Regions from separate parts of the Homo sapiens genome. Here regions 2, 3, 4, 5, 6 and 7 are each linked to region 1. The links are contacts of gene promoters, found by promoter capture Hi-C in blood cells and fetal thymus (Javierre and others, 2016). All regions are on one chromosome and are shown on one strand. The core of a region is centred on a gene start or on the middle of the fragment in contact, and the rest is flanking DNA. Distances in the headings are between cores, read along the strand shown.

Region 1 (4,256 bases), core at 966-3,465:
GTGTTGGCAAGGATGTGGAGAATCCTGCTGGGGAGGGGAGTAAAATGGGACAGCCACTTTAAAAAAATCTGGCAGTTCCTCAAATAGTTGAAAATAGAGTTCCATAAATACAGAAATCCCTTGGTATCTGCAGGGTGGACTGTTTCGAAGACCCCTGTGGACTCCAAAATTGACAGATGCTCTTCTTGCAGTCAGCCCTGTGGAATCCGCCCATAGGAAAATTCCTCTTATCCTCAGGTTCTGCAACCTGGGAATACTGTAATTTTTGATATGTGGTTGGTTGAATTGGAGGATGCAGAACCCACAGATAGGGAGGGCTGACTGTATACTACTGGGCACATGCCCAAGAGAAATGAAAACGTATTTGCACAAAAATGTGTACATGAATGTTCATAGCAACGCCAAAAGGTAAAAACTTTTTGATAAATAAAATGTGGCATATACATACAATGCAATATTATTCAGCCAAAAAAGGAATGAAGTACTGACACATACTACAAAATGGATGAACGTGTTACAGGTGGCAGGTATCCAAGTTACCAGGGCAAATCTGTATGGGTCTGCAGCAACTTCAGTTCTTGCCTCCTCAGAAGAAAGAATTTGACCGAGGGGCAATAAGGCACAAAAAGAGACTGAGGCAAGTTTCAGAGCAGGAGTGGAAGCTTATTTAAAAGGCCTTTAGGAAAGAAAGGAAAGCACGCTCGGAAGAGTCCCAAGCTGTCACTGAGGTCAACTGTGATATTGACCTCGATCCTAGGACTTTACAGGCTGGCTCCTTTCCCATGATTCTTCCCTTAGGGTGGGCTGCCTCCATGCGCAGTGCCCTCCTTACCCTTGGGAAGTGAGCACAGCGCAATATGTATGAAGTTGTATGCGTGCCCATCTGAGGCTTTCTTCCCTTTTCCGATAGAGTCCCCCTGAAAGGTCATACTCCCCGATTTTGTCTCTTAATGCATATGCCCAGGAAGTTGCTTCTCCCTGTCACCTGCATTCAACGAGCACTTTAGTGCAACAGGTGTGGGCCATCAGGAAATGGCCTCTCCCTGGCACCGGCTGCCAATTTATCACTTTTAGAGGCAATGTGATAAATGCCTAAGCATCACCCCACATTCCTAGTGGGTGAGGGAAGAGCCCTCTCCTGCCCTGCTCATGCCTAACTACCTGTAACAAACCTTGTAAACATTAAGCCAGCCACCAAAAGACCATATAATTCCGTTTATATTAAATGTCCAGATTAGTTAAATCTAGAGAGACAAAGTAGGTTCTTGGTTGGCTAGGGCTGGAGGAGTTGGGAGGATCAGGGGTGATAGCTAAAAAGTACAAGTTTCTTCTTTCGAGTGGTAAAAATGCTCTCAAATAGTGGTGATGGTTGCCCAAGCCTGTGAATATACCAAAAATCACTGAACACTTCAAATGGGTGAATTATATGGCATGTGATTACAGTCTAATAAATAAATAGTATGTCCTGCTGTATCCTTCAGGGCCTCTGAGAAATGGAGAGAGCTCCATCTGAAGCCAGACTGAGTTCCGATCCTGCTTCTATTTTCCCCGCAGGTAAATCCTTCCTCAACAGCAACACGGGGTGATACGCCCTATCCGGAAAGGTTGTTGTAATTTTTAAAAACATTAAAAACATACATTAGGGTTAATCATGTAGCGTGTGATACACAGACGCTCTGAAACACTACTGCACACGCACACCAACATGGGGCCTCTGCGGAGCTTGTGAAAGAACCAGATCTGGAGGGCTGGTCGTGTCCCTGGTCTCGGCCCTCGCCCTCCTTGTTTCTTAGGCTCTAAAGCAATCAGGCAGCAGAGCAGTCCTTGAACCCCAGTCAAGAAAAAGCCCTGCACCCCTTAGTCCGAAAGCCGCAAGGAACGGGGCCTAAGCGCCTGGCGAGGCCGCCCTACCGGGCAGAGACAGTTGCTACGTAACTCGGGGACCAGAAACCCAGCCCCACCCGCTGCGGTTAACCGACAGCCGCAACGGTTCCCGCACCGCCCGGGTCGGAGAACAATGCTGCGCCCTGCACGTAGAGCCTCGCGGTGCCGCGCCCTGGGGCGGGCCTGCCCATGGCCTGCCGGGAAATGTAGTTTCTGATGCCCTGCCCGCGCCGCCTCGCCGCTCGCCGGCCGGGCGCCCCAAGCAACTACAACTTCCATCACGCTCTGCGAGGCCTTGATCTGCAGGCTTTTGCAGGGGAAGGAGTGGGGCGAACATGGCTGAAGGAAGCCGAGGTGGCCCTACGTGTAGCGGGGTGGGTGGCAGGCAGGACCCAGTCTCCGGCAGTGGCGGCTGCAACTTTCCAGAGTATGAGCTTCCCGAGCTAAATACGCGCGCTTTCCATGTGGGCGCCTTTGGGGAGCTGTGGCGGGGCCGTCTGCGCGGGGCCGGGGACTTGTCGCTGAGGGAGCCGCCGGCATCCGCTCTGCCTGGGAGCCAGGCAGCTGACTCCGACCGGGAGGATGCCGCGGTGGCCAGGGATCTGGACTGCAGCCTGGAGGCGGCGGCTGAGCTGAGGGCGGTGTGCGGGTGAGTGCGGAGCAAAGGGGCTCTTGCAGCTTGGGGTCAAACAGGGTGCAGCCTTGCTCGTGCGCTCCTCTGGGACTCATCCCTGAGAAGGGCCTGTGGTTTAGACCTGGGCTAGGAGTATTACCCTTTAAAGCTTTCAACCCGCTGGAGCCTTCCTGGGACACCAGGAGAAGTCCTGGGACCCGAATGCACAGTTTCTACGAGTTGGAGCAAAGGGACAAGACAGCTGCATCAAAGACTAGTTTTTCCATTTGCTTATTCTAAGAGTGCTTGTTAATAAAGAAAAGCAATCAGGGCAACAGCGACGTGTACCTGCCATTGACAGACACTTTGACAATGGAGGAACCTGAGTAATGGTGAAGCTGCGGGAGACTTCATCAGAGGAGTGTTAAAACCCCGACTAACTGGTTTCTTTTGGGGACCTTCCGGGTATTCTGTTACTGAAATATTTCTTAAAAGTGCCTTATTTGGGGATGAAAATATAAAAATAACTTTAATCTCTTTCTCCATTTAACAGTACTGGCTGCCTTCATCGGCCTTTTCATTATAAAATATAATCACAGAAATCGTTGTCTTAAGTTCTGGCCTCTCTGAGCCGCCTGCTGGATTTTATCTGACTTCGTAATTCAGTAATGTATTTAGGAAAACAACCCTAACTCGCTGTGAACCAGATGCAGAGTCGACCTTAAAGTATTGCTTTTCCTTTTTGTTTTAGCCTTGATAAACTGAAATGCCTTGAGGACGGTGAGGATCCAGAAGTCATTCCGGAGAATACTGACCTGGTGACTTTGGGGTATGGAGGACTTGGTTTTTATGACCTATTTATTTAAACATTTTTTCAACATTATGTTTTGAAAAGTTGAAAGTGCAGTATTGATTGTTGTCTGTATACCCACCCCTTAAATTCAGCTGTTCTTAATATTTGACCATATTTACTTTAGCCGTGTGTATGGGATGCCTGCTGTGTGTTTTTTCATTTTGCTATCCCCCATTCAGTAAGTTAGACATGATAATTTACCCGTAAATACATAAGCATATAGCTTCTAAAAGTATCATTCTCCTACATAATTATTGTGGTATTATTATACCTAAGAAAACCGTAAATACATAATCTATAATATTCAGTCCATATTCAAACTTGTGTTTATTTTTTAATATTTTTGAATGTTTGTTTATAGAGGTAATCTACTTAGATCTGGGGGGCAACCTAAATACTCTGACAGTGTTTTTCAAACTATTTGTGGTAAAGGACAGTTCTTGTTTTTAAAAATTTTTAATCTTTGACAGATTTATGCTTTGATAAAATACTATAAAAAGAATTACTAGAAAAATGGAATTAAAAAAGACAAACACAATATAAGTTCAAATTTTTAATTAAATTCAATAGACAAAATTATTCAATGATAATGGAAGTTTCTAAATGCTTACTGTCATTTTCTGTACAGATTGGTTAACAAATAGGTCATAGATGAATTCTGGTCTGCCTACCACTCTTTGAGAGGCACTGTTGTATGATAATATAGAGAAATTGTGCATGTAATAGTGAAATTTATAATTTCCAATTTATAGTCCACTTATTTCATACTACCTCAGCTATGTTCTGTCGTTCTTGATCCTACGCTATTATCCCCCTCAAATATTCAGGCAGTCATTTCAACTCTACTTGGGTTTTCTTTCATAATAACTGCTAAATCTGTTCCCCTGGTCCCTACTGCTGACTTTT
Region 2 (4,256 bases), core at 493-2,992, 250 kb before region 1:
TTCTGTTTCCCAACTAAAGGACTAAGCAAGGTCCAGATTATCTACAAGGAGACATCACAGTGCTAGAGAGATTAGAAAACTAGGTCTTACCAACATCTTAAGTGTAAAAATTATTGATATTTTACATATCATTTAAAGCAGCAGGAAATTTACTTCCTAGAAGAAAAATAATCCATGTATGTATTTTAGGCTCTCATTGCTAAGGTTAAGAAAAATTCCTAAAATATGACACTTCCTTCCCTTTAGATACACAGGGGTTTTGAATTTTGTTATTATAATAGACTTAAGTACATTCAAAATCAGTCTCTCCAAAACGTCACCACCTTTAATCAAATGAAGAGTAAAAAACCACTAACTGAATACTGCATCATCCTTTATAGAGAAAGGTCTCTTCAACCCATGAAGTACATTATATCGATCCGTGTTCATGTTCTCAGACTGTCTTTTTCAGAAGTCTTCTGAAGGTCACTGTTAAGCTATTTTAAATGCAATGATATTTATTTATCTTCTGAAATTTAAATACAGGCAACAAAATATCTCTGAAGTTTAACTACCCAACAAATCCAAAATTGGCTCAACTTGTAAGCTATTTGCTAAACAATATTAATTTTCACATTAAAAAAATAAATAATCTAATTAGACTATTGCATCTGCAAGTCTTTCAAAAGACTTCTTCGCCCCCTAATTCAAATAATATGAAATTCTTTTGGGGGAGGCAAAATATAAGAATTTTCTAGATAATATAGAATGCCATTCCATAGGAAAAAAAATTATGTAGACCAACAGTAAATCTCTCAGATGATAGAAAATATTGACCAAAAAAACTGTTTTTTTGTCTCTTATTCACAAGATCATTTTTCCACTTTAATATAAGGTTGAATCTATAGCAGATGCCGATGCTAATTGAGGAAAAATTCCATCCTTCAAGTTCTGATCAATCTGAGGAAGGTTTTCTCCAGAGGTGAAGAGCTGCCTGAATTCTGAAGTGTAGTCTGGACTCCAGGGAGTAATCTTTGTAGTTGTTCCTGAAGACAATAACAATAAAATTGTACAGTCAAAATTTCCTTATATACCAGGTACCACCACTCTCCCATTCCTCTCTCTGATCTACTTACTTACTTTCAAACTCTAATATACATAACCGTAGATCTTAGTAAAATGCAGATTCTGGTTCTGTTGGGGGGTTTTGGGGGGAACTGCAATAATCTGCATTTCTAGAAGCTTCCTGGTGGTCATCTAAAGGTCATACTTTGAGTAGCAAGGTTCTGCTTAATTACCAAATCATTCACAAGCATAGCAAGAAGTTGTGAGAAGGGCTGTACAAATTTTGTGAACTAGTCCTAAATAATTAGACTTCCTTTTTTAAATTGGAAAATTTTAAGGTAGGTGCATATAAACATGGTTAGCATGATCACATGATCGATCACTCAAGAAACTCAAATGAAACAACTGCAACAAAGGCAGCAGAATTACTTAATGACGTCAAAATTACTTATTCCAATTCTCACATGTAAATATCAATGGTTTGGCCAATAATTACATAAGAATTAGGCCAATGTCTTTAAAGGGGGCCATAGAAATCCAAAGATTATTTAAAACCTGCCTAAGAGCATTTATGTTGACCTCCCTTTACCAGAATTGTTAAGAATCAGAAAAATGGAATACTTTTACATACTGCCTTGGCCCATGGGTGAGCTATAACTGCTTTCTTTACAGTGGCACTTATTTCTATAGCCCTTCATTTTGAACAGGTATAAGGGCTACTCACTGGTAATCTTGATGTGGGTTAGTAAAATGTATTATTCATAAACTAAAATCAATATGTTACTGGAGTTTACCGACAGATGGAATTGAGTATTTTCCTAAATGCCACCAATGTGGGCAACTTTGCAAAGCTCCTAATGCATAAAGGGAAAGTGCAGATAATAGTCTTGGAATTACTGGGAAGTATCTTTATGTTTGAATTGTCAGTATTGTCTTGAGTTAGTGGAGGCTTTTCATTGCTTTTTAGCAGTGAGTTACTAGTCTTTTATTTTTATCTTATAAAGTTGCCTTATTATACATTGTATATTCAAATAATGAATATTTGGAACAGCAGCATTTATAATCCATAATTTTCCAATAGCTGGATTTGAAGATATCTATATCTAACACATGAAATATTGGTCATACTCCCAACAAATTAACTTTAAAAGCAACTTGCTCTCATATCACCTATATATAAATATTTTAAGGAAGCCCTTCTTGGCTCTACCATGCCCGTAAAGCTTTTGCCCCATTACGATGTTCTATTCACAGCAAACATCCTAAAAGAGTTGCCTAAAGTAGCGGACTCCATTTTGTTTGTCACCTCATTTGTCAAGGTCACCAATGATACTCATGCTGCCAAATTCAGCAGCCACTTTTCTGGTCTTAACTTGTTTGACCTCTTAGTTGCTGCCCTCATAACTGACCATGCTCTTCTTTTTGAAACACTATTTGGTTGGCTTTCCTAGATGTCTTCCTAACTCTCTTAATCTTCTTAATCTTATCATTTAATGTCTAAGAAGATGGCATATCCCAGACATTGTGCTAGACCTCTTTCTCTAGCTATATAACATTCACAAAATGACTTCATCACACGCCATTGCTTTAAATATTACTGTCTCTGTGCTGTTGACTGCAATCTCTACATTCAGCCCTGACCTTATCACTGAACTTCATGCTAAGTATGAACGCCAACTTGCCATCTACCTAATATGAGTACCTAATAGCCATCTTAAAGAATCATGGTCTGAACAGAAGTATGTTTCGTTCTCTCCCCAAATACATTCTTCTAAGTATTCCCCAGCACAGCAGAAAGCATCATCATTGACCCAGTGGCTCAACCTCCTCAATGCAGATGTTCACTAACTGTGACTTCTGTCAGGAATGCTCCCTACCTAGTTGGTTGATTTCTGATGACTGATCTCAAGATTGGCTTTAATTATGCAAATCTCAGCTACAATATCATTTCCCCAAGGAAATATTTCAGAATCAATCTATCCTGAAGTAACACCCAGGCACCATGTATCATATTATAAATCTCAGCAAACATATACCACTGATATTTTTCTTGTCTATTTAGTATCTCCCTCTGGCTAACAGAGCAGAAGTATTGCCTGCTTAGTTTATAGTTGTCTCTCTAAAGCCTTTACTAGTAGTGTCTGACACATAATAGGTGCTCAGTGAATAACTGCTGAATTTGAATAAATGGACAAATCACTGTTTATGACCTAGAGCTAGTCTGGCATTCTTTCTCTACTGCAGAAAGTGTTCAAGGCAAACAGGCCACAGGGTTTTTGCCTTACCTAAGTGATCCATGACCACAGGTCTAAAAGCTATTGTCTACCAGAATTGATAAAAATACTTTGAAACTGCCGCAATAAACAGAAAAAACAGAGTCTGGGTAAGATCTGCAAGCTTCACAAGATCAATGGCTCTTCAAGGAAATAATAGGTATGGCTGAATACAATGAAGGTTGGCAAACTAGGACCCAAGGGCCAAATCTAAACATACCCATCTGTTTACATATTACCTTCTATGACTTCTTTTGATATAATGGAGTAGTTGCAATGGAGACTTTATGCTATAAAGCTAAAAATATTTACTATCTAGCCATTTACACAAAAAGCTGGCCAACCCCTGATATAGAATAAAATAAGTTAGAAATCTTTCAAATAGATGCCCATAATCATATCTGTAAACAGTCACAGGGTGAGGCAGTAAGAGGGTTGGAAACAGCACAATTACAGCAAAAGCCATGAGCATAAATCAACCAGAAGTTAGCAAAAGTAGCATTATTACTAATTTGACATTGTTAATTGTTAAGTATATAATGTTACTGCTGTTGTTAGAGCAGTACTGACATTTCTGACTCCATAACAATCAAGGAAAAGCTGCCTTCAACACTTACCTTGCAGTTTCTAGGAACTTTATGGCCTTGTCAATTTCCCCCTGGCTTTTATACAAAGATGCCAATTCAAATAGAGTGAACGGCACTAGGTAGTGGTCATACTTCAGTAGCTTTTCACTGAAAGAGCAGAGGAAAATCAAGTAAATCTTAACAGAACAAGAAATACACATTTTTCTAAATATATATTATTCCCATTCTTCAGAAAACATGTGCAGCACTAAGTCTATTATCATAGAAAGGCGGCCATTGTATAGTTATGGAACTCATTAAACTATGGCAATAAATAATGTTCTTTTCCTATATTAATCTTTTATTCCTTAAT
Region 3 (4,256 bases), core at 673-3,172, 230 kb before region 1:
ATGCAATGCTGAGGACAGTACCTATAAATAGTGGGTACTTAAGGCACATTTCCTCCTTTTGTGGATCTCTAAGTTGAGAAAACACTGTGGTATCATACTACTGAGCAAACAGTCCTAAATGAAAATCATCCTGGCCATGTATTAGCAAACAGATGACATTAATGAAAGTATTGCACTTTACCTTGGACCATTTACTCTCTTTGCAAAGCAGATCTGAATAGTAATATGCCTGCATCCAGTTTTGTTGGAAAACATTAATCCACATTAGCTCCCAGTAGCAGAGATGGTGAAACTGTTTCCATTCTTCTTGAACTGAAATGCATTTTTGAAATACTTCTTGTGCCTGTAAATCAAGTACACAAAGTTGATCGTCCAGATATTAGACAAGGAGATAATAACCTAATGGAAAAATACATAAAACACTTAGTACAAAAAGGACAAAATTATCACTCATTAAACCTCTCAATATGATGATATGTTCTTTTCCTTACAGGCAATGATACAGTTAAGTTCTGCCTCTTTCTTTAATTTTGTGAGAGGGCCTTGACACTTTGTAATGTGGGAGTGGGGAGGTTCCATTCCAAGGAAGATATCAAATGCAGAAATCATTTAAGAAAAGACTGACAATAAAGTTAGAACTTCCATAGGACAAAACACTGTAGGCAGAGTTACAGGCAACAGACAGGAAGAAGATGTCACTATCTACGTAACTGGCAAAAGGTTAACTCTTTTATCATTCATCAATTTAATAAAATTCTGTAAGAAAAAGAAAACTCAACAGGAAACAGGCAAAGATGTAAATAGGCAAATCAGAAAAAAATATATAGATGACAGATATACATGTGGATAAATTTGTAAACTAGGCAATATAAACTTAAAAATTAGATTCTCATTTTTAGCCATCACGTAATGTCCTGAGCCAGCAAAGAGCATTGGAAAAAAATATTTTTATATGTTTACTGGAGTTTACACTGGAACAATCTTAAGTGAGGAGGACAATTTGGCTGGATTTATAAAAATGCAACCACCTTTTGGCCCAGGAATTCTACTAATCATAATCTGTCTTCTATAAATGTACCTGTGCACAGAAATATACATACAATGATGTTCACAACAGTTTGTAGTGGCCAAATGTCTATGGACCACTTTAATAGGTATAGTATATCCATCCCATGAAATGAAACCCAGCCATCAAAAAGAATAGGAGACATTTAGGCATACTGATCTGGAAAGAGATCCAAGACATATTGTAAACAGTGAAAAAAAAATCACAGAAAAATACATTTTGATCCCATTTGTGTGGAAAAAATGGTTTGTGAATGTATATACATAAATGGCTCCTTACTTTTCTACTTCTGACCTCGACGCTTCGTTTTTGAGGGAATTCGTTTTTTGAGGGGTCCTTTGATACGGAGCCCACACGTAGTAGACCTGCATGTCACACAGGGGCTAGATTCCAAAGTCAGTGTGTAATGCAGAAATTGGTAACAGTCACAGTTTCTTGAAAATCCCTGAGCTTGTTATTTGGTATATATTACCCTAAAGTGCTTAATGTACTCTATGTATAAATGTAGACTATATTCAGTAATCCACTGCATAGATTTTATATAATAGAATGTATATACAAGTTAAAAGTTTTGGCTTTTTACTTATATATTTTTTTCTTTATTTTTGTCTAGTCCATATAGCCAAGTTTACTTTTGTTGAATAAGTAGGTCACAGCGACTCATGTAGGAGTCGCCATACAGACAACTCCCCCAAATAATTCCCACCTAATAAATTACCTCTTCAAGATTCCCTTTCAGCAACTCTATTCGGGCATGATAAAACAACACGAGTGAGCCCTGCAGAGCAAGGAAGAAAACACACTGTTCAACAGTCAACACTGGCTGATTAATTATGGTTGAAACATACACTTTGAAATACTGAGCGTACATTTGGAAACTGCTGGAGGAAGGGTGCCAGGAGACGCTCTGCTTCCGCAACATTCACTTCTCCTGTACCTAGAAATTTAACAGGAAAAGACTCAGTCTTCATAAGACATGGGGATATTTATAACCAGCTCTCCAAATTTCATTAACATACAGTAAAGACCTACTCATGGAAAAGATGAAAACTATTATTTCATCATTTTTATATCTGGGGAATAAAATAAAGACCAGTCTCACCTATAACTTTAGTTTAAGAAAGCTCTAGGACACACTAATTCTTAAGAATGCAGGTGGCTGTCTCAGATTCCTAATTGGAATTTCTGGTTTTAACAGCAATATTAACTTATTTAGCCCAAAATTTCATTTTCTGCAAAGAAAAAAATCTCATATATGATAAAATAGATCACCTTAATATAGAAATTTTAGCTGAGAACAGATGAAAATTATTTAATGAAAGAAACTACCCTACTCCTTCTGCTAAATGTCACTATGACAAAGGACACTATTTTCTACCTTTATTCAAAAAAAAAAGTAAACAGATATGAACTACTAGCTCTTGCTGATCTTTCTAAATTTTTACTTACTCAGATTAAAAATAATCAACTTTATGTTTTGTCTTGTTTTGTTTTTTTTAATTTAGAGACAGGATCTCGCTCTGTGGCCCAGGCTGGATCCAGTGCAGTGACGTGATCATAGCTCACCGCAGCCTCAAACTCCTGGGTTCAACTGATCCTCCCACCTCAGCCTCCCAAGTAGTTGGGATTACAGGTGTAACACACCATGTCTGGCCAAGACAATCAATGTTCAATGAAACAATCTAATCCAGATCTTACCAAGTATTAGGGAGATGTAAGTATGAAAAGCTAAGATGGTTAAGCAGCACAGTGCAGACCTCATGCTCCTTCCTGAAGCACCTTCACGTAACTGCAGGAGGCCCAACTCCTATGGGAATTAAATGCATTTTTAGAAAGAGAACAAGACTGGAAAATCATATTCAGAAACTTTTTAAACATTTTTATATATTAGGGGGGTTACAAGTACAGATTTCATATATTACGCTGTGGTGAAGTCTGGGCTTTTAGTGTCCCTATCACCGCAAGAGTGAACATCATACTCAACAGGTAGTTTTTCAACCCTCTCTTCCCCCACCCCTCCCATCTTTGGTCAACTATTAAGAAAGCATAGGAAACCACGTGAGAGTAATAAGATCTAGCAAGAAGCAATATTAGCAACACATAATTTTTCATCCAAGAATTTGGATAACAAGGGTGAACATTTTTAACTTTCATCAGAAAAACTATGTCTAAGTCCTGAAAAACATGATCAAGAATCAAAGGCTTATTTTCTGTCCTACAAACAAATTGCCAATAATTATCAAGGTAGTTATGCAGACATGTTGCATTGCCCTCATGTTCAATAAATACTGTCTTATCTTCCCTGTCAAAATTAACATAAAATTAAATTTGTACCCTATTCCCAGAAAATCCAATAAATTCTAGTAGTCTGATAATCCTTGCTGGTAAAAGGGACAGCATCTGTAAGAAAAAAATATACAGTGTACTTATGTGTTAGTGTTTCTAACTGCAAACAAATCTAAACTAACAACTTACAGTTTTAATGCTTCAATAACATGAGAAATTGGGAACAAGTTTTAACCACCAGATATTTCTGTTACCACATACTGTAACAATCATTTATGAATTAATTTCATTTAGCTAAGACAAGGAACCTTTAAAAAGTTTTTTTTAAGCCTGGTCTTTCCAGGGTTCTCTATAGAATACTGGGACCTTTGATGTGGTGTGATGAAGTGACAAGAAGGTAACCCCTCAAAGCCCACATCCAGGCAAGGTTTCTTAGTTTCCTTTCCCAGAAGCAAAAATCAGTCATAGTCTGTGTGATGTGTAGACACCACCCAGAAGTGGACAGCTGCAGCACTACCACTTCTCTCTGGGATATTCCTGAAGGACAGTGGTGAGGGAATATCCTTCCAGTGGGCAGAACCCTGGGCAGTGCACCTGGTTATGCACTATGCTTGAAAGGAGAAATGGCCAGATGTGCAATTATATGCTGATTCAGGGGATGTAGACAATGGTTTGGTTGGAAGGGCAGGGGCTTAGAAGGATCATGATTGGAAAATTGGTGACAAAGAGGTCTGGGGAAGAAGTACGTGGTCAGATCTTTCTGAATGGGCAGAAAATGTAAAGATATTTGTGTCCCATGTGGATACACACCAAAGGATGACCTTAGCAGAAGAGGATTTTAACAACCAATTGGATAAGATGGTCCATTCTGTGGGTACCAGTCAGCCTCTTTCCCATTTATCAC
Region 4 (4,256 bases), core at 556-3,055, 220 kb after region 1:
CCCAGCACTTTGGGAGGCTGAGGTGGGCCTATCACTTGAGGTCAGGAGTTTGAGACCAGCCTGGCCAACATGGTGAAACCCCATCTCTATTAAAAATACAAAAATTAGCCAGGCATGGTGGCGCTCGCCTGTAATCCTAGCTGCTCTGGAGGCTGAGACAGCAAAATCACTTGAACCTGGGAGGTGGAGGCTGCACTGAGCCGAGATTGTGCCACTGCACTCCAGCCTGGGCAACAGAGCAAGACTCTATCTCAAAAACAAAACAAAAGAAAAAGTAATAAAATGCACACAAAAAAGAAAATATCTAAACCTAAACTTTAAGGTGTGGTTGTGCACAACCCGGTATTGACTTTTTTCTGTAAAATACTTAATTTCCTCAATATCTGTTTTTATTGGTTGATGTTATAGGTATAATATTATTATAGACTGGTTTTATTTTTACTTTTTAAAATTTTTTTGTTTATTTTATTATTATTATTATTATACTTTAAGTTTTAGGGTACATGTGCACAATATGCCGGTTAGTTACATATGTATACATGTGCCATGCTGGTGTGCTGCACCCATTAACTCGTCATTTAGCATTAGGTGTATCTCCTCATGCTATCCCTCCCCCCTCCCCCCACCCCACAACAGTCCCCAGAGTGTGATGTTCCCCTTCCTGTGTCCATGTGATCTCATTGTTCAGTTCCCATCTATGAGTGAGAACATGCGGTGTTTGGTTTTCTGTCCTTGCGATAGTTTACTGAGAATGATGATTTCCAATTTCATCCATGTCCCTACAAAGGACATGAACTCATCATTTTTTATGGCTGCATAGTATTCCATGGTGTATATGTGCCACATTTTCTTAATCCAGTCTATCCTTGTTGGACATTTGGGTTGGTTCCAAGTCTTTGCTATTGTGAATAGTGCCGCAATAAACATACGTGTGCATGTGTCTTTATAACAGCATGATTTATAGTCCTTTGGGTATATACCCAGTAATGGGATGGCTGGGTCAAATGGTATTTCTAGTTCTAGATCCCTGAGGAATCACCACACTGACTTCCACAATATTTTTACTTTATGTTTTTTTCTTTACTGCTGTGTAAATACTTTTGATAATACCAGGTCTCTGCTTTTGGAGAACTTGAAGCTTTGAAGGTAGTCTAGATAGTCTTTATTTTTCTTCTATTTGTAAGAATTTTACAAGTGGAGAGCTTTAGTCTTCTAAGTTACCTATGATTTCTCATATTTAGATTCTTTTTAAAAGCTTTGCTTTATATTATATATCATGTGTTGTATATTAGTTAGTATATTTTATGTTGGCTGTTTGACCACATAGTGACATAATGAACAAGAAGTTAAATTTCTGGAGAGCATTTTATGTTAGTTTTACACTCAATTGCGGAGACAATCACTACCAGTAATACTAGGTACTTAAGTAATTGTTAGTGGTATTTTTAAGAGAATTAAGGTAAGATGGGATAATAATAAAGAAGAAGTTGTTAAAATTTTAATTTAATAAAGTACATTATTTAATATCAGCAATATCAAACTAAAGCAACTAATAAAATAGACATTTAGCCTAATGAATGTTTTAAATTCTAGTGAAGCTTTTTAACAGTTGCATTTCTTGAAAGGTGATTTTTTTATGTGCCTGAGCCAAAGAAGTTTTTATATATATGAAACATAAATATAAAAGAATTTAAAAATCTTATAAGCTTTATATCACTGTGTCTTAATCATCTTAACATGGATCAATGCTTTCTTAGATTAAAAAAAAACAAACAAACTCCCAATCCAATTTTATAAATGCAGTACTGGATACCATAGAATCAAGGGAAAAGCAAACTGGAAAAAGAAATATCCATGGCTTTTATAAACCTCTTTACAACTAGGGGAGTTTATTATCATGGGAAATAAGCTTAACTCAATAAGAAAAGAGAAAAGAGAAGATGCAAACCTAATTCTGAGAGAACTGAAGAATCTTCTGAAGATTATGGTAGAGAGAGAACAGTCTTTGCAAATAAATTCTGAATTGCTTCTGTCAGTCATATTCTATATTATAGTAACATAAAAAAGGGTAAAAGGTAGCATCTTTCTCTAAATGCGTACTATCTTCAACTGAAAATGGAAAAGTTGTATTTTACCTTTCATAATTGTTGATAAAGACCACCTTGTATGATTCATCTTTTTAAAGCCATCATGTGTTTGTAGGAATCATTTTCAAAGGTCCATTTGCATAGATTACTAACTATAAAATAGGTAAATGATGAAATCACCTGTGTTATACAGTCATAGGTATTACACATTTAAATGCAGCATTTTATGTTTATAATAAATTTTAAGATTGGAACTTCAGTTAAAAATTTGGTAAATACTCAAGTTTTTTTTGCCAGAAAAGGTAGAGATAATTTTTAAAGAAGGTAAATCAGTTTATTATCATGTTAATCAGAATTTGCGACCACAAATTCTGTTCCTGATATTTCTTATTTTTATTATCTGTGGGTTTTTTGATTATACCTAGAAGTAATAAAACTTTTTCTTCATTAAACTCTTTTATAATCTGAGTGGTATACTTCATTTCTTGCTGAATAAAAAAATTACAGTGTTCTCCAGTTTATTTCTATTGTCAGCCTATTGTCCTCATATATCCCTTCTGAAACCGTTAAGGCTCTGTTACCATCCTCAGTGACTTTAACTTTGAATTTTCTACCTTCAGAACTGCATAGTTAATCATGATCAAGATGACTGGCACAGAGAACTCTGAATCTTTCTATGTTCTGCTATGCTTTATATGAGCCTGTTTATGTAAAATAATCTAGGGGATTCTGGAAAACAAATATGTTTTGGCCATTAATAAAACAGTTACAGATGAATTGTAGTTCAGAGAAGTAAGTAGAAGGAATATCCTTTAGCGACAAATGAATTTTTGTCTACAACACAGGTCTTTTGCTTACTCCTAATGGAAATGCTTATAGATGTGTCAGGACTCGTTTTGGCCTTTGGGCCAAGGACCTAGTATGGCATCTGGCATATAGTAGGTACTCTATAAATGTTCCATTCTGCTTTTTAGTTGACCTATATAGTAAAATAAGTATCAATGAGATCATCATGAAAAGTTATAAACCTATTCATTTGTTTTTAATAATCTTTTGTTTTTATGCAGTCACATTTGTTTAATGGGATTGAATATAAATGTAAAATGTTTGGACTTCTATGAGGGTACAATAAAGTGGATAGGACTTCCTGACCAATTCACTTCCAAGACCAGTTGGACTTCCTTCCTCTTCTCTTTTACATGGCAGTTCCCGTGTTCTGAGTCACAAAGCAGCATTAATTTTGTCTCTGAGTTGTTTTTCTAATGTACTGTGCTGGCCACATGGAAAGTAGGAGAGCTACTTAAAAAAAAACACCACCTTCAAATTAGAATGCCTTATTAAGATTTAAAATATTATGTATCATACGAGGCCCCTTATGTAAAATATATCATGTTATTTTAAAAGTCAAATGAGAACATACACGAGAGTTCTTTGAAAACTGTAGCATATTAATATTTAACTCTAGGCATAATCTCCTCAGTGACATTAATGTAAATACACTCTGTCATGTAGAAGTGACATTAGAAATATAAATGCTTACATTTAAAAAGCCAACATTGAAGGTCAGACTAATTGAATAATATTATTGTTTCTTAACATGTTTGATTAGAACAAGGATGATAAATAGTAAAGGGCTTATAGACAGTTCTTAATTATGACCCTTCAATATATGACTCTAGCGATTAAGTGATTTAATACTGTGATGCCTGTTTTACAAATACTTATCAAATACTTGGAGACTCTGACCCTCTGAGGCATCTTTTTTGGTAATAAAAATCCTTTGAGACCTTCTGTTTAAGGGCTCAAAAGATAGTATTAACAAGTGTGCCCCCCTTCCCTGCCCAGGTAAAGAATAAGTGTTATATTTAAATATTAACATGCATATAATAAAATATTAACAGCTATTAAAATGTAACAAAATAAAATACACTTATCATTAAAATAAGCATCGTAGAATTAATCAGTCTATGATGATTCAGTCCCTTGGAATCACCTTTTTGTAGATGGATTATTACTATATTTATTACTTATGAAAACATCTATTAAAGGGAATTATCAGGTGATAAAATCTGGAAAAATAATCATTTTCTATTTATACAAGTTATTGATACGTTTGGGGTAAACTTTGTGCAACTAATGAGGAAACTAACATACAACACACTCCTGAGG
Region 5 (4,256 bases), core at 1,180-3,679, 190 kb before region 1:
GGAAAGAGGAAGTGACCGACTGAAAAGGCTATCTACCCATTTGGACCATTCTTGCCCATCTGTTCATTTACAGACTCATTTTCGAGGGCTAGAAACACACAGTCTCTGAAATGTACTGTTAAAATATCCCCTTTTCACATTTGCCTTTAGCTTTAATAAAAGTCTCCCCAATATTGAAATTTTTACTTAGTCGTAACTATCACCCTTTTCTTTAACATTCCTGATTTTGAGGGCATACTTAGAAAAACCTTCCCTCTACAAAGATTATATAACATAGTTTTACCTGTGTTTTACTTTTTAATATGTTATATTTAATCGTTTATAATTTAAATAAATGGTACAAGATAGTGCTGTGTAATTTTTTCCCTAATCTTTTGCCATGTTTCCCAAGATTGTTTTTAAAAAAACACATCTTTTCCCCCAATGATTTGACATGCCATATATAACACACTAGATATAAACATAAATTTGGTGTGCCAGGTAAATATTATATGTTTCAAAGTGCTAAAATAATTGGGACTGGGCACGCTGGCTCATGCCTGTAATCCCAGCACTTTGGGAGGCTGAGGCAGGCAGATCACTTGAGGTCAGGAGTTTGAGACCAGCCTGGCCAGCATGGTGAAACCCCGTCTCTACTGAAAATACAAAAATTAGCCAGGCGTGGTGGTGGGTGCCTGTAATCCGAGCTACTCAGGAGGCTGAGACAGGAGAATTGCTTGAACCCGGGAGGCGGAGGTTGCAGTGAGCCAAGATTGCACCACTGCATTCCAGCCTGGGTGACAAGAGTGACACTCCATCTCAAAAAATAAAAACAGTAATAATGAATTGGGAGGCCTTCAGCAAAGATGGTTCCTATACGAGCAAATGGAAACTCAACTCACCGTAAACAGTAAAAACAAAACTTAAGCTTAGCCAATCAGAAACCGCCAACTCACCTCTAACTAAGAACTTCCCACTTGTTCCAGTCAAGTATTTTATTTGTCTTGCTTCTTTAAATACTTCATAAGTTTCCCCCTCCCACTCCTTAAGTAGAACACTGAACTGCTTGTGTTCTAATGATATTCAATTCAGGAATCACTTATGCTCAAACAAACTAGTTAAAATATTACTGTGCCTAAATTAATCTGTTAATAAAAGCTAAAATTATTGTATCTTTACCTGGCACAACAGACTTGACTTTAGCAGAATATAATAATTATTAACAAAATAATGTTACATTTTATTCATCTTTTCTGAGGTATAAAAGATTAGATTCAGATTCTTCAAGTTCTTTATGTTTGTATACACATGTACACGAATTCATGGAAATTCTACAGTATTTCTAGATTTATGTTAATATCACAATAAGCATATCATGCCACAAACTAATTTTTTTATTAAACAGGATTTTTTTAGATATAGACATAACCCATTTATTGAAAGTACTGTCTAGTGTTTTAAGAATGCATTTTCTCATTTCATTAATAAGAAATGCTTCAAATACATAAAGTAGAGAAAATACTATTGCAAACACACAAATATAATCTAGAATCCATTTTTGTGTACAGTCTGAGCTACATTTAATTCTTTCCTGCATGGATAAGCAAGAAATAACTCATCTACTTGTTATAAGAGCTTGGAAACAAGGCAAAAGGAAGACTGCATGTCCTCTCAAGGTCACCTTGGAGCACTGTCTGACAGGCCCACCCAAGGAACATTTAATTCCCTAGGGAGTATATATCTTGTTTGGCTTGCTATTTACTATTAAAACCTATACTCTGTAAAATTATGTTAACTTGTAGATTTTTTAATCTGGTAGATATGCAAATAATTTCTGTGTGGTAAGATTATGGTTTTATTACCTTGCCGGAGGTTAACCAGTGTTGTGCATAACAAACCTTATTTCAACACTTTTTCTTTCCTCAGTTCTCCAAATGCTGTTACCAGGTTTACCATCTTGCTGATTTCCTCACTGACATGCGTTGATTCCATAATTATGATACTTTGACATACTGGATTATTCTGCAATCTCTTACACACAGCAATTTTCCATACGTGCTCAGGTCTGTTTCTGGGCATTCTTTTGTTCCATCACATATTTGCCTCTCTCTGCACTAGTCACACCGTTTTTATTATCATGGCTTTCCGAGACCTGTAAGCCAACTGGGGCAAGTTCTCTACTTTATTAAACACTCTTTTTGTGGGGTTGTTATTATTACACCTACATTCTTGTTTATGAATTTCAGAGTTAGTCATTATAATATTACAAGCAAGTCCTGCTGGAGTTTTGACTGGGAATTCATTACATTATTAGGAAATCTACAGAGAATTGTTGTCTTTATAACATTGCATCTTCACATCTTTACACATTTATTCAGGTCTTCTCTTATTTCCTTCAATAAAGGCTTTTAATATCTGAACACTGCACTGATATGCATGTACCCTTGCAAAAGAGCCATGCTAAATCTTTATACTGGAGGCTACGAAAAATAACACACCAAACTTCAATTACAGCTATTAGTACATTGGAATATATGCCCTTATTTTGCCCTATTTTAACGGCTCTAACTTTTAAGTTTTTAAACAGCTTTATTCAGACCTAATTCACAGACCATAAAATTCACCCAATTAATGTTTACAATCAATGGTTTTTAGTATATTCACAGACTATCACCACAATCTAATTTTATAATATTTTGTCACCAAAATGTATCCATATATTAGCAGTCACTCCTCATTCTCCACTCCACCTCCTCTAGTCCTAAACAACCACTAATCTACTTTTTGTGTCTATAGATTTGCCTATTCTGGACATTTCATATCAATGGAATCATAAAAAGTATGGTCTTTATGCTTGGCTTTTTCAGTTAGCATGTTTTCAAGATTCATTCATGTGGTATCATGTAACAGTACTTTATTCCTTTTTATTACCTAATATTATTCCATTGTATAGCTATACCACATTTTGTTAGTCATTTGTTGATAATATATGAATAATTTGCATTTTGTGGCCATTACGAATAATGCTGTTATGAACATTCATGTACAAGTTCTTGGCCAAGGCATGGTGGCTCACTCCTGTAATCCCAGCAGGACTTTGGGAGGCCGAGGAGGGCAGATCACTTGAGGTCAGGAGTTCAAGACCAGCCTGGCCAACATGGCAAAACTCCATCTCTACTAAAAATACAAAAATTAGCCAGGCATGGTGGTGCACACCCGTAATTCCAGCTACTCGGGAGGCTGAGGCAGGAGAATTGCTTGAACCCGGGAGGCGGAGGTTGCAGTGAGCCAAGATTGTGCCACTGCACTCCAGCCTGGGTGACAGAGTGAGACTCCATCTCAGAAAAAAAAAAAAACAAACAAGTTATTGTGTGGACATGTATTTTCATTTCTCTTAATTATATATCTAGCATTGCTATGGAATGCTAAATTATGGTATGTGGAATTGCTACATTATGTGGTAACTTTATGTTTGACATTTTGAAGAACTACTAGACTGTTTTCCAAAGTGGCTGTGTGATTTTTCCGATTTTTTTAATTTTTATTTTTTGTAGAAATGGTGCCTTGCCATCTTGCCCAGGCTGGTCTTGAACTCCTAGGCTCAAGCAATCCTCCTACCCCAGCCTCCCAGAGTGCTTGGATTACCAGCATGAGCCACCATGCCCGGCCAGCTATGTGATTTTATATTCCCACCAATAATGTACTAGATTCCCAATTTCTTAACAGCTTGGCCAATACTTGTTTTTGTCCATGAGATATGGTGGTATCTCACTGTAGTTTTTGGTGTGCATTTGCTTAATGACTAATAATGTTGAGAATCTTTTTTAAGTACTTAATGGCCAATTGTATGTCTTCTTTGGAGTAATGTCTATTCAGATTATTTTCCCATTTTTAATTGAGTTACTTATCTTTTTATTATTCATTTGAATACTGCTCTAATTTTAATCACTAGGTACAACTATTTTCGAGGGTAAAGCTTACAGCTATCTTTGTTTATACTTTTTCTCTCAATCAAATCATAGATAGCAGAGCCAATTCAAATTTAACTTCCCCAATAAATCCAACACAATATGTTATGTTCCTGCGCAATGAGATAAAAGCTAGTCCATATTTAAAACTAAAATAAAATTTCAAAAATGAATAAAAATATGTCCTTCAAGGTTTTCCATCAACGTTAAAATCTCTCCTTAGGGGAGAAAAGGAATGAGTGTAGATAGGCCAACTGATGTGCTCTGGAAGCCACCATGTTTGTAATCTAGAGTCGAAATGGTATCCAT
Region 6 (4,256 bases), core at 834-3,333, 180 kb after region 1:
AGGTTAGTTACATAGGTACACATGTGCCATGGTGGTTTGCTGCTCCTGTCAACCCATCACCTAGGTATTAAGCTCAGCTTGCATAGCTGTTTTTTCTAATGCTCTCCCTCCCTTCACTCCACCCTTGACAGGCCCCAGTGTGTGTTGTTCCCCTCCCTGTGTCCATGTGTTCTCATTGTTCAGTTCCCACTTACAAGTGAGAACATGCGGTATTTCGTTTTCTGTCCCTGCATTAGTTTGCTGAGGATAATGGCTTCCAGCTCTATCCATGTCCCTGCAAAAGACATGATTTCATTCATTTATGGCTGCATAGTATTCTATGGTGTATATATACCACATTTTCTTTATCCAGCCTATCATCGATGGGCATTTGGGTTGATTCCATCTCTTTGCTATTGTGAATAGTGCTGCAATGAGCATACATGTGCATGTGTCTTTATAGTAGAATGATTTATATTCCTTTGGGTATATACCTATTAATGGGATTGCTGGGTCAAATGGTATTTCTGGTTCTAGATCTTTGAGGAATTGCCACACTGTCTTCCACAATGGTTGAAGTAATTTACATTCCCACCAACACTGTAAAAGCATTCCTCTTTCACTGCAACCTTGCCAGCATCTGTTGTTTCTTGGCTTTTTAATAATTGCCATTCTGACTGGCCTGAGATGGTATCTCATTGTGATTTTGACTTGCATTTCTCTGATGATCAGTGATGTTGAGCTTTTTTTCATGTTTGTTGGCTGCATGTATGTCTTTTTTTTTGAGAAGTGTCTGTTTATGTCCTTTGCCCACTTTTTGATGGTTTTTTTTTTTCTTGTAGATTTGTTTAATTTCCTTGTAGATTCTGGATGTTAGACCTTTGTCAGATGGATAGATTGCAGAAATTTTCTCCCATTCTGTAGGTTGCCTGTTTGCTCTGATGATAGTTTATTTTGCTGTGCAGAAGCTCTTAAGTTTTTAATTAGATCCCATTTGTCAATTTTTGCTTCTGTTGCAATTGCTTATGGTGAGTTTGTCATGAAATCTTTGCCCTGCCACAAGCTTTTCTATTGTGGGACAGGCAGTGATAAAGCTTTGTTTCTAAACTATCATGCCCCTCCTTTGTTATTTTTCCAGTTAATTTCACGTATACTTTATCAGTGGGATTGAAAACATTTAGAAGATGAATATATATGTTTTCATTTTTATTTCATTTCCAAAATTCTATACCTCAACCAGGGAATACAGTTATCCTTTCCTTATTCATCGACTAAATTTGGTGTATGTGTCTAGTGATTGAAGCATGGGGGAGTTTGTGACGGTATGGGAAGTGTAGCTTGAAAATAATTCCATGAACTATAGAAAGAGGAGGAAGAGTAGGGAGGCAGTGAAGAAAGTTATCAGACCACCCTTAGTAGGCATGGTCTGATAGGCCTTAAGACAATCCAGGGATTGGGGTGCAACATATCAAAAGCTGACCCAGTAAGTATGATTGTGATGTAGTGACAACTCGGAGGAAGTTACGTGAAAAGAAAGTGTTTTTAGGAATATCCACGTAACAGAATAGTATGCAAATACACACAGAAATAAGATATGAACATCAACAGATGGATGCAAAATATTAGGAATATAATTTTATTTTGTTTTATTATTTTATATTTTTGAGACAAGGTCTCACTCTGTTGCCCATGTTGGAGTGCAGCGGGACTATCACAGCTCACTGCAGCCTTTGCCTACCTCAGCCTCCTTTGTATCTGGGACCATAAGCATGTGCCACGAAGCCTGGTTAATTTTTAAAATTTTTGTAGAGATGGGGGTCTTCCTTTGTTGCCTAGGCTGGTCTTGAATTCCTGGGCTCAAGTGATCCTTCTGCCTCAGTCTCCCAAAGTATTGAGATTACAGGAGTGAGCCACCACACCTGGCTTATAATTTTATTTATGTAACACATTAACATATGTTGACATGTATGACAGGTAAACACCTTAAGGAAGTTTACCTTAAATAATCAAGGGCAGCAAGGAGCATTTCTTTTCTTCTGGAAAACTATGTACTGGTATCCTATTAACAAATGGCATAGAAAAGGACTCTGACACTGATAACTTTGTTATAAAAATGCCCCTAATTTGGCCGGGCAGAGTGGCTCATGCTTGTAATCCCAGCACTTTGGGAGGCTGAGGCGGGCAGATCATGAGGTCAGGAGATTGAGACCATCCTGGCCAACACTGTGAAACCCTGTCTCTACTAAAAAAAAAAAAAAAAAAAAAATTAGCCGGGAGTAGTGGCACGCACCTGTAATCCCAGCTACTCAGGAGGCTGAGGCAGGAGAATCGCTTGAACCCAGGAGGTGGAGGTTGCAGTGAGCCAAGGTCGCACCACTGCACTCCAGCCTGGGCGACAGAGCGAGACTCTGTCAAAAAAAAAAAAAGAAAAAAAAAAGTCCCTAATTTAGGGAAATTTAAAAGCAAGAAAGTAAGGGTCTTGCCCCTTTCACCTCTGATTTCGCTCCTCATGTCAGGATATAGAAGCATTACGTTTTTACATAAATAAAATGATACACCTCAATAATATTTTGCCTCCATCTTTTGATGTTCATACCTTATTCTTTTAGTATTTGCATGGCATTCTGTCATGTGGATTTTCCTAACATACTGTAGCCTTTCCCTTACCTGTGGGGCATATGTTACATGACACCAGTGGATGCCTGAAACTGCAGATATGCTGTGTTTTTTTCTATACACACACATACCTATGATAACGTTTAATTTATAAATTAGGCGCAGTAAGAGATTAACGATGTAACTAATAATAGAACCATCATAACAAGATACTATAATAAAAGTAATGTGAATGTGGTCTTTCTCCCACTCTAAATATCTTATTGTACTGTATTCACTTATTTTTGGACCTAGGTTGACTCAGGGTAACTGAAAGGGAAGATGAAACCGCAGATAAGAGGGAATATTGTATTTCAGTAATCTCTTATTGATGCACATTTTATTTCTTTCAAAATTTTTAGCTCTAATTAATGATTCACTAACATTCTTGTCCATATCTTTGAGCAGTCATACAAATGATTCTTCGTGTAAATGCCTAGAAATATAATTGTTTCATTTTCAAGCTTATGGATTCACAATTATGATAAATGTTATACAAAGCACCAGTTTATGCTCTATAGCAACAAACACTTTGTAATTGTAGAACTTTGCTAGCCTTGGGGACTTAGAGAGGAGGAACTTGTTCTGGGTCTTTCAGGAGATAATAATGTAATAGATTAAGGTTGTAGTTAGCTATATTGATATATTTTATAAGCTAGAAAAGAGGAGTACATTTAACTCTGATACTTTTCTAACTAGTGTAATTCTTCAGAATTGGAACGGAACTGTATTTTGGATTCTGAGAAATGTTGTTTATATGAGTATATATAAAGAATTATACTTTTTGGGCTACGTTTCTGGAAGATGTGGAAAGAAAGCAAGTTTATTTTCTAACAGCCAAATGTAGTTTCCTGTGATATTAAATGTCAGTTCAAAAACAAGCCTCATTTTAAAATATTTTAAGTTCAACAGCCCCCTCTAGTGGAAAAAAGAAGAACTTCCCTCAATTTCCAGTGTCCTTAATATGATTTTATTTCACACACACAGACACACATAATAAAGATGCAGGTAGCTTTTGGTGTGATTGGAAAATATGTTCTGTAACAAAAATTTTAAAGTTACATTTATTTGGGATGAAGGCAAGTTTTTCTGTAAATTGCATGAGGTATTTTTGTAGTTTTTTTGGATTTTCTTGAGTGTTACATTGCATCTCAGGATTGGATGATATTGATAAAGCCATAAACTTAAAGCAAATATTTGAACATACAACCCCCCCAGGGATTTATATATACTCAATGCCCAATATAACCCAGCAATACCATTAATGTAACAAATGCTACCTAGATCATGTTAGTGTGTGTTATGTTTACTGGAACTGGAAACAAACAGTAAATTGTTATATCATTGAAGACAATTCTGAGTCACTTCCCCATCCTGCCACAACTTCAGCCCCAAAAGAATAACTGCCATTCTGAAGTTGGTGTTTAATTTTCTGTCTGTATACATTGACAGTATATTGTATTATTTTAGTATTTTTGTTTTAGGATATATATTAGAATATCATACAGGATGCTTCTTTGTCAAACTTATATTTTTCACTTTTTTTTTTCTTTTAGACAGGGTCTCACTCTGTCACCCAGGCTGGAGTGCAGTGGCGCGATCTTGGTTCACTGCAACCTCTG
Region 7 (4,256 bases), core at 794-3,293, 170 kb before region 1:
CTTCAGTTTTAGGCAATTTCAGGGTTCTTCCAATTTGTTGATGGCTATTAAGTCTTCAGACTATTTATTAGATGTGCATCATGCATGGTACTGAACTATACACTATTCAAAAATGTACCTAAACCAAATATCACTATGCCTTTGAGGAGTTCTATTCTCTGGTCGTAGAATAATGTTCCACAAGCAGAGACAAAAGGGGGAAAGAGGGAAGAAGGAAAAAGAAAGGAGACCAGAGAGGCTGATGATTTTCGGAACACAAGCAATGAAGAAGTTTGGCGCATTTCAAAAGACAAAGCTCCCAAGTATATGCTTTTGGGTGTTTTATTAGTCATCTTAGGTTCCTATTTTTATCGTGAGGTAGATGAAAAGGGAATGGATGAAGGCGTCAGAAAAAAAAAAAGGATGTCAGGTGAAACAGGGTAAAAAGTTAACAAAAGGCAATGAGCTCACTGTATCCTTTAAGATTCTGACACTCATTTATGCAAACGTCAAGTGAAAACTGAGTCAGCCCTTCAGAGAAAAATGGCAATGGAGACACCAACAATTATGGATAGTGTTTACTATGCCCAAACATTTGGACTTTATTTAATTATATATGCATTTGAGTTTATGAACACAATCAGCCACAGTCTTTTTTTTTAACTGTGTATTCCAAAAGATCCCTTAACTAACCATTTGAATAATCACAGCAATTATCACTGTGCCCTATACTCATTAGGAACTCAATGGTGGCTACATTTTTTTCTTTAATTTACTGCAAATCCTAGCAGTCTACTCTGAGGATCCACCTATATTTTCTTAATAGTACATGCTATGGTTTAATGTTTGTGTCCCTCCAAAATTCATATGTTGAAACCTAACCCCCAAAGTGATGGCGTGGGGCCTTTGGAAGGTGATTAGGTCATGAGGGTTCCACCCTTGTAAATGGGATTAGTACCCTAACAAAAAAGCTTGAGGGAGTCTCTTTGCCCTTTTTCCTTCTTCTTTTTTTTTTCTTTCCCCTCTTTCCACTATTTTCTGCTTCCTTCTACCACGTGAGGACACAAAGAAGGCACCATCTATGAGGAATGGGCCCTCACCAGACACTCAATCTGCTGCCACTTTACTCTTGGACCTTGCGGCCTACAAAGCAGTGAGGAAATAAATTTCCATTGTTTATAAATTACCCAGTCTAATGGATTTTGTTACGGCAGCCCAAATGGACTAAGACAGTATATTAATTTCACACATTCATTTTTTCAACACATATATACTGAGCACCTACTATGTGACAAGCATGGTGCATAGGTGCCAAGTACACCATGACAAGCAAAGTAGATCAGACCCATCGTTATAGAACTTGGAGCTCAAAAAAACAGATGATCAAAAAACAAGTAACAATTAACTGCAAAATGAGAAATGGAGTGATAGAAACAAACAAGATGCCAAGACAGAGAAATGGGGGAAGACTAACTGTTTTGGTGGAGTCACTGAGAAAGTGGGAGGACACGCCAGCTGAGAGTGGAGGATGGCCAGCAAAAAGCCCTCAAAAGAGTGAGGGCAAACACGCTCCAATCCGGAGCAGCACAGGGTTTACTCTCACAAAAAACTGTATAAGGCTTGTGGCTGGAGGGTCATGCATGAGGGCAAGAGTTGCCCTCGATGAGGCAGAAGCAGTATGTGGGAGCCCAACCACCTCAAACCTTATGAACAAAGGTAGATTGGGTCTTCAGCTTTAGACAGGAAAACTCATGGATGGATTTTAAGCAAGCAGTGACATCATCCCATTTAATTTCTAAAAGGATCACTCTTGTCCTGATTCACACAAACATACTGTTAAAAAAATAAATGAGACAGTCGGAGAAATTTGAGCACTGACCAGTTACTGGACGGATATTATTATGTTTTAGGTGTGACAACAGTCTTGTGATTTTTTAAAAAGCGACCTTTGCAAGCTAAATACAGATAAAATGATGTCATATAAAGCATACAGATTAAACTATAGCTCTATATCAATGTTAATTTCCTGATCTTGGTATCTGAATGGTAATTATGAAAGAGACTGTCTTTGTTTTGAAGAAATATATTTTAATATATTTAGAGGTAGAAATAAATTATCATGTCTAGGATTTGATTCCAAATAATCTGGGGATAGGATATGGATGAAATAAGATTGGCCTTGAGTTGACAACTATAGAAGCTAAGTGATTAGTATATAAGGTTTGGTTTACTATCCTCTTTACTTTCTGTAGATGTTCAAAATTGGTCATATTAAAAATTTTTTTTTTGAGACAGGGTCTTACTCTATCACCCAGGCTGGAGTGCAGTGGCACCATCACAGCTCAACACAGCCTCGACTTCTGCGGCTCAAATGATCCTCTCATCTCAGCCTCCCAAGTAGCTGGAACTACAGATGTGTCACCACACCTGGCTAATTTTTTGTATTTTTTATAGAGAGGGGGTTTTGCCATGTTGGTCAGGCTGGTCTCAAACTCCTGGGCTCAAGCAATCCACCCGTTTTGGCCTCCCAAAGTGCTGGGATTACAGGCATGAGCCACCGTGCCTGACGCAAATTATCTTATTTTTAAAAATAATTTTAGGCCAGGCACGGTGGCTCACGCCTGTAATCCCAGCACTTTGGGAGTCCGAGGTGGGTGGATCATCTGAGATCGGGAGTTCGAGACCAGCCTGACTAACATGGAGAAACCCCGTCTCTACTAAAAATACAAAATTAGCCGGGCACGGTGGCGGGCGCCTGTAATCCCAGCTACTCAGGAAGGCTGAGGCAGGAGAATCGCTTGAACCCAGGAGGCAGAGGTTGCGGTGAGCCGAGTTCGTACCACTGCACTCCAGCCTGGGCAATAAGAGCAAAACTCCATCTCAAAAAAAATAAAATAAGATAACTTGGGCTGCTGTATGGAGAGTAAGTGGGGTGCAGTTGGAAAAGTAGAGGGAGAGAACAAAAGAAGCGGGAACACACATTAACCATTAGCCAGCTCTTAAAGTAGTCCAAGCAAAATCTTATAGTCACTTAAGCTAATGTAATAGAGCGGAGAGAGAGGAAAGTGAACGGATGGGAAATATATATTGGAGGTAGAAATCATCAGACTTGGTAATGTGGAAATTAAAAGAAAAGAAAGGAATCAAAGATGTCTCCCAAGCTTCTGACTTGAACAAATGGGTGGATGGTGGGTGGAGACATTTACAGAAAAGGCAAAGTTTTCAGATAAACAAAGGAGGTGGATACCAAGAGTTCAGTTTGGGACATAAAAATTAATGTGTTTGTGAAACATCCTAGTGAGTGATAAAAGAAGCAATGATTGGACCTCTTTCCCATTACAACTACCAAAATAGCCCAAGACAGCAGCAGGGAGCAGCAGCCATGTCAAGAAGGTTACTTATGGAGGAGGCAAGGAACTCAGTGTAAGAGCAAAGTCCTGGCTTTCAGACACAAGCTGAGCATTGCTACCAGGGCTGAGAAAGTCAGAGAGGACACTGAGCCTGCAGAAAGGCAACCACAGTCACAAAGATCCTGCTCATAGGGGTTCACTGGTCATTCACTTTGCACCAGCAACACCCCAACCACGACTCAGTCTTCCATCTCTGCTGGGACCTCCTTGGTAAGATGAGATAATTGCACCAAAGTGTTGCTAAGGAGCTTTCCTTCAGAGGCTTTCCTTCAAGTGATGAAATCTTGTCACTCCTCATAGTGAAAAGCAGCATTTATAGGATCTATATCTTAAAACGTGTACTACACACATTCTCCTTCCCCCTGTGAATTTATATGAAGAACTTCACAGTGGCAGGTCTAAACACAACAGCAGACCATTAGAGTAGATCTAACAGGACAAAAGAAAATACAAAGAGAAGCAAGCCCAGTGGTAACAGAAACAAGGAAAAAACACCAGGAATGCTGTTTACCTTGAGCTTTTTAAAGAACTTTTATTTCCATTTACTATATACCATTGACTCTATGACACACAAATTTTCATCATGGAATATCCCTAACCCCAAGATACATCTTAAAATTGACAGCAACTTTGACTGCCCTAAATCAAAGTTATGTTCTTAGGGAGAGGATCTGCATTTGCTTCTGCCAATTACCTGAGGACACCACCAACCTGATCCACTTAAAGTTAAATAACCTGCTTGAAGTTGTTGGGGGTTACACCATTTATATGTATTCAGACTCCAAACCAGCTTACAATTCAAATTCTAAAGGGCATTAAAAAGTTAAACATAGGTTCACCATGCAACTTACCAATTCCACTTCTGTG

Evidence for each region. Contacts are between HindIII fragments. The CHiCAGO score rates a contact against its expected background, and 5 or more counts as called.
Region 2: a fragment that was not itself captured here is called in contact with the fragment with the promoter of SNAPC3 in region 1 in 2 of 17 cell types (M2 macrophages and M1 macrophages); the score reaches 6.8 in M2 macrophages.
Region 3: a contact is called between a fragment that was not itself captured here and the fragment with the promoter of SNAPC3 in region 1, in 3 of 17 cell types (non-activated CD4 T cells, M1 macrophages and M2 macrophages). The highest score is 6.8, in non-activated CD4 T cells.
Region 4: a fragment that was not itself captured here is called in contact with the fragment with the promoter of SNAPC3 in region 1 in 2 of 17 cell types (megakaryocytes and fetal thymus); the score reaches 5.3 in megakaryocytes.
Region 5: a fragment that was not itself captured here is called in contact with the fragment with the promoter of SNAPC3 in region 1 in 7 of 17 cell types (activated CD4 T cells, M1 macrophages, M2 macrophages and 4 more); the score reaches 11.9 in activated CD4 T cells.
Region 6: a fragment that was not itself captured here is called in contact with the fragment with the promoter of SNAPC3 in region 1 in 13 of 17 cell types (fetal thymus, non-activated CD4 T cells, naive CD4 T cells and 10 more); the score reaches 15.7 in fetal thymus.
Region 7: a fragment that was not itself captured here is called in contact with the fragment with the promoter of SNAPC3 in region 1 in 3 of 17 cell types (M1 macrophages, non-activated CD4 T cells and total B cells); the score reaches 6.4 in M1 macrophages.

Annotation. Positions count from the first base shown.
Region 1 is chr9:15,420,661-15,424,916 of GRCh38, forward strand. SNAPC3 (small nuclear RNA activating complex polypeptide 3) reads left to right here and starts at 2,216. Exons shown (of 9, transcript NM_001039697.2): 1 at 2,216-2,533; 2 at 3,249-3,326. The coding sequence starts at 2,220. RefSeq lists a silencer at 1,943-2,232 and an enhancer at 2,573-2,692. The HindIII fragment of the contact is 2,004 bases long and covers 661-2,664 here.
Region 2 is chr9:15,171,085-15,175,340 of GRCh38, forward strand. It overlaps TTC39B (tetratricopeptide repeat domain 39B), which reads right to left. Exons shown (of 20, transcript NM_152574.3): 19 at 3,935-4,051; 20 at 1-1,025. The coding sequence ends at 935. Among named protein-coding and RNA genes, the nearest start is that of TTC39B, 130 kb to the right of the region's middle. The HindIII fragment of the contact is 1,046 bases long and covers 1,220-2,265 here.
Region 3 is chr9:15,187,790-15,192,045 of GRCh38, forward strand. TTC39B (tetratricopeptide repeat domain 39B) reads right to left here. Exons shown (of 20, transcript NM_152574.3): 10 at 3,401-3,466; 11 at 2,765-2,873; 12 at 1,936-2,003; 13 at 1,785-1,844; 14 at 182-343. Among named protein-coding and RNA genes, the nearest start is that of TTC39B, 120 kb to the right of the region's middle. The HindIII fragment of the contact is 5,799 bases long and covers 1-4,256 here.
Region 4 is chr9:15,637,003-15,641,258 of GRCh38, forward strand. The region is part of intron 7 of CCDC171 (coiled-coil domain containing 171); the gene reads left to right. Among named protein-coding and RNA genes, the nearest start is that of CCDC171, 86 kb to the left of the region's middle. The HindIII fragment of the contact is 203 bases long and covers 1,705-1,907 here.
Region 5 is chr9:15,227,665-15,231,920 of GRCh38, forward strand. All of the region lies in intron 2 of TTC39B (tetratricopeptide repeat domain 39B), which reads right to left. Among named protein-coding and RNA genes, the nearest start is that of TTC39B, 77 kb to the right of the region's middle. The HindIII fragment of the contact is 3,048 bases long and covers 906-3,953 here.
Region 6 is chr9:15,603,293-15,607,548 of GRCh38, forward strand. The region is part of intron 6 of CCDC171 (coiled-coil domain containing 171); the gene reads left to right. Among named protein-coding and RNA genes, the nearest start is that of CCDC171, 52 kb to the left of the region's middle. The HindIII fragment of the contact is 2,025 bases long and covers 1,072-3,096 here.
Region 7 is chr9:15,255,200-15,259,455 of GRCh38, forward strand. All of the region lies in intron 2 of TTC39B (tetratricopeptide repeat domain 39B), which reads right to left. Among named protein-coding and RNA genes, the nearest start is that of TTC39B, 50 kb to the right of the region's middle. The HindIII fragment of the contact is 2,190 bases long and covers 949-3,138 here.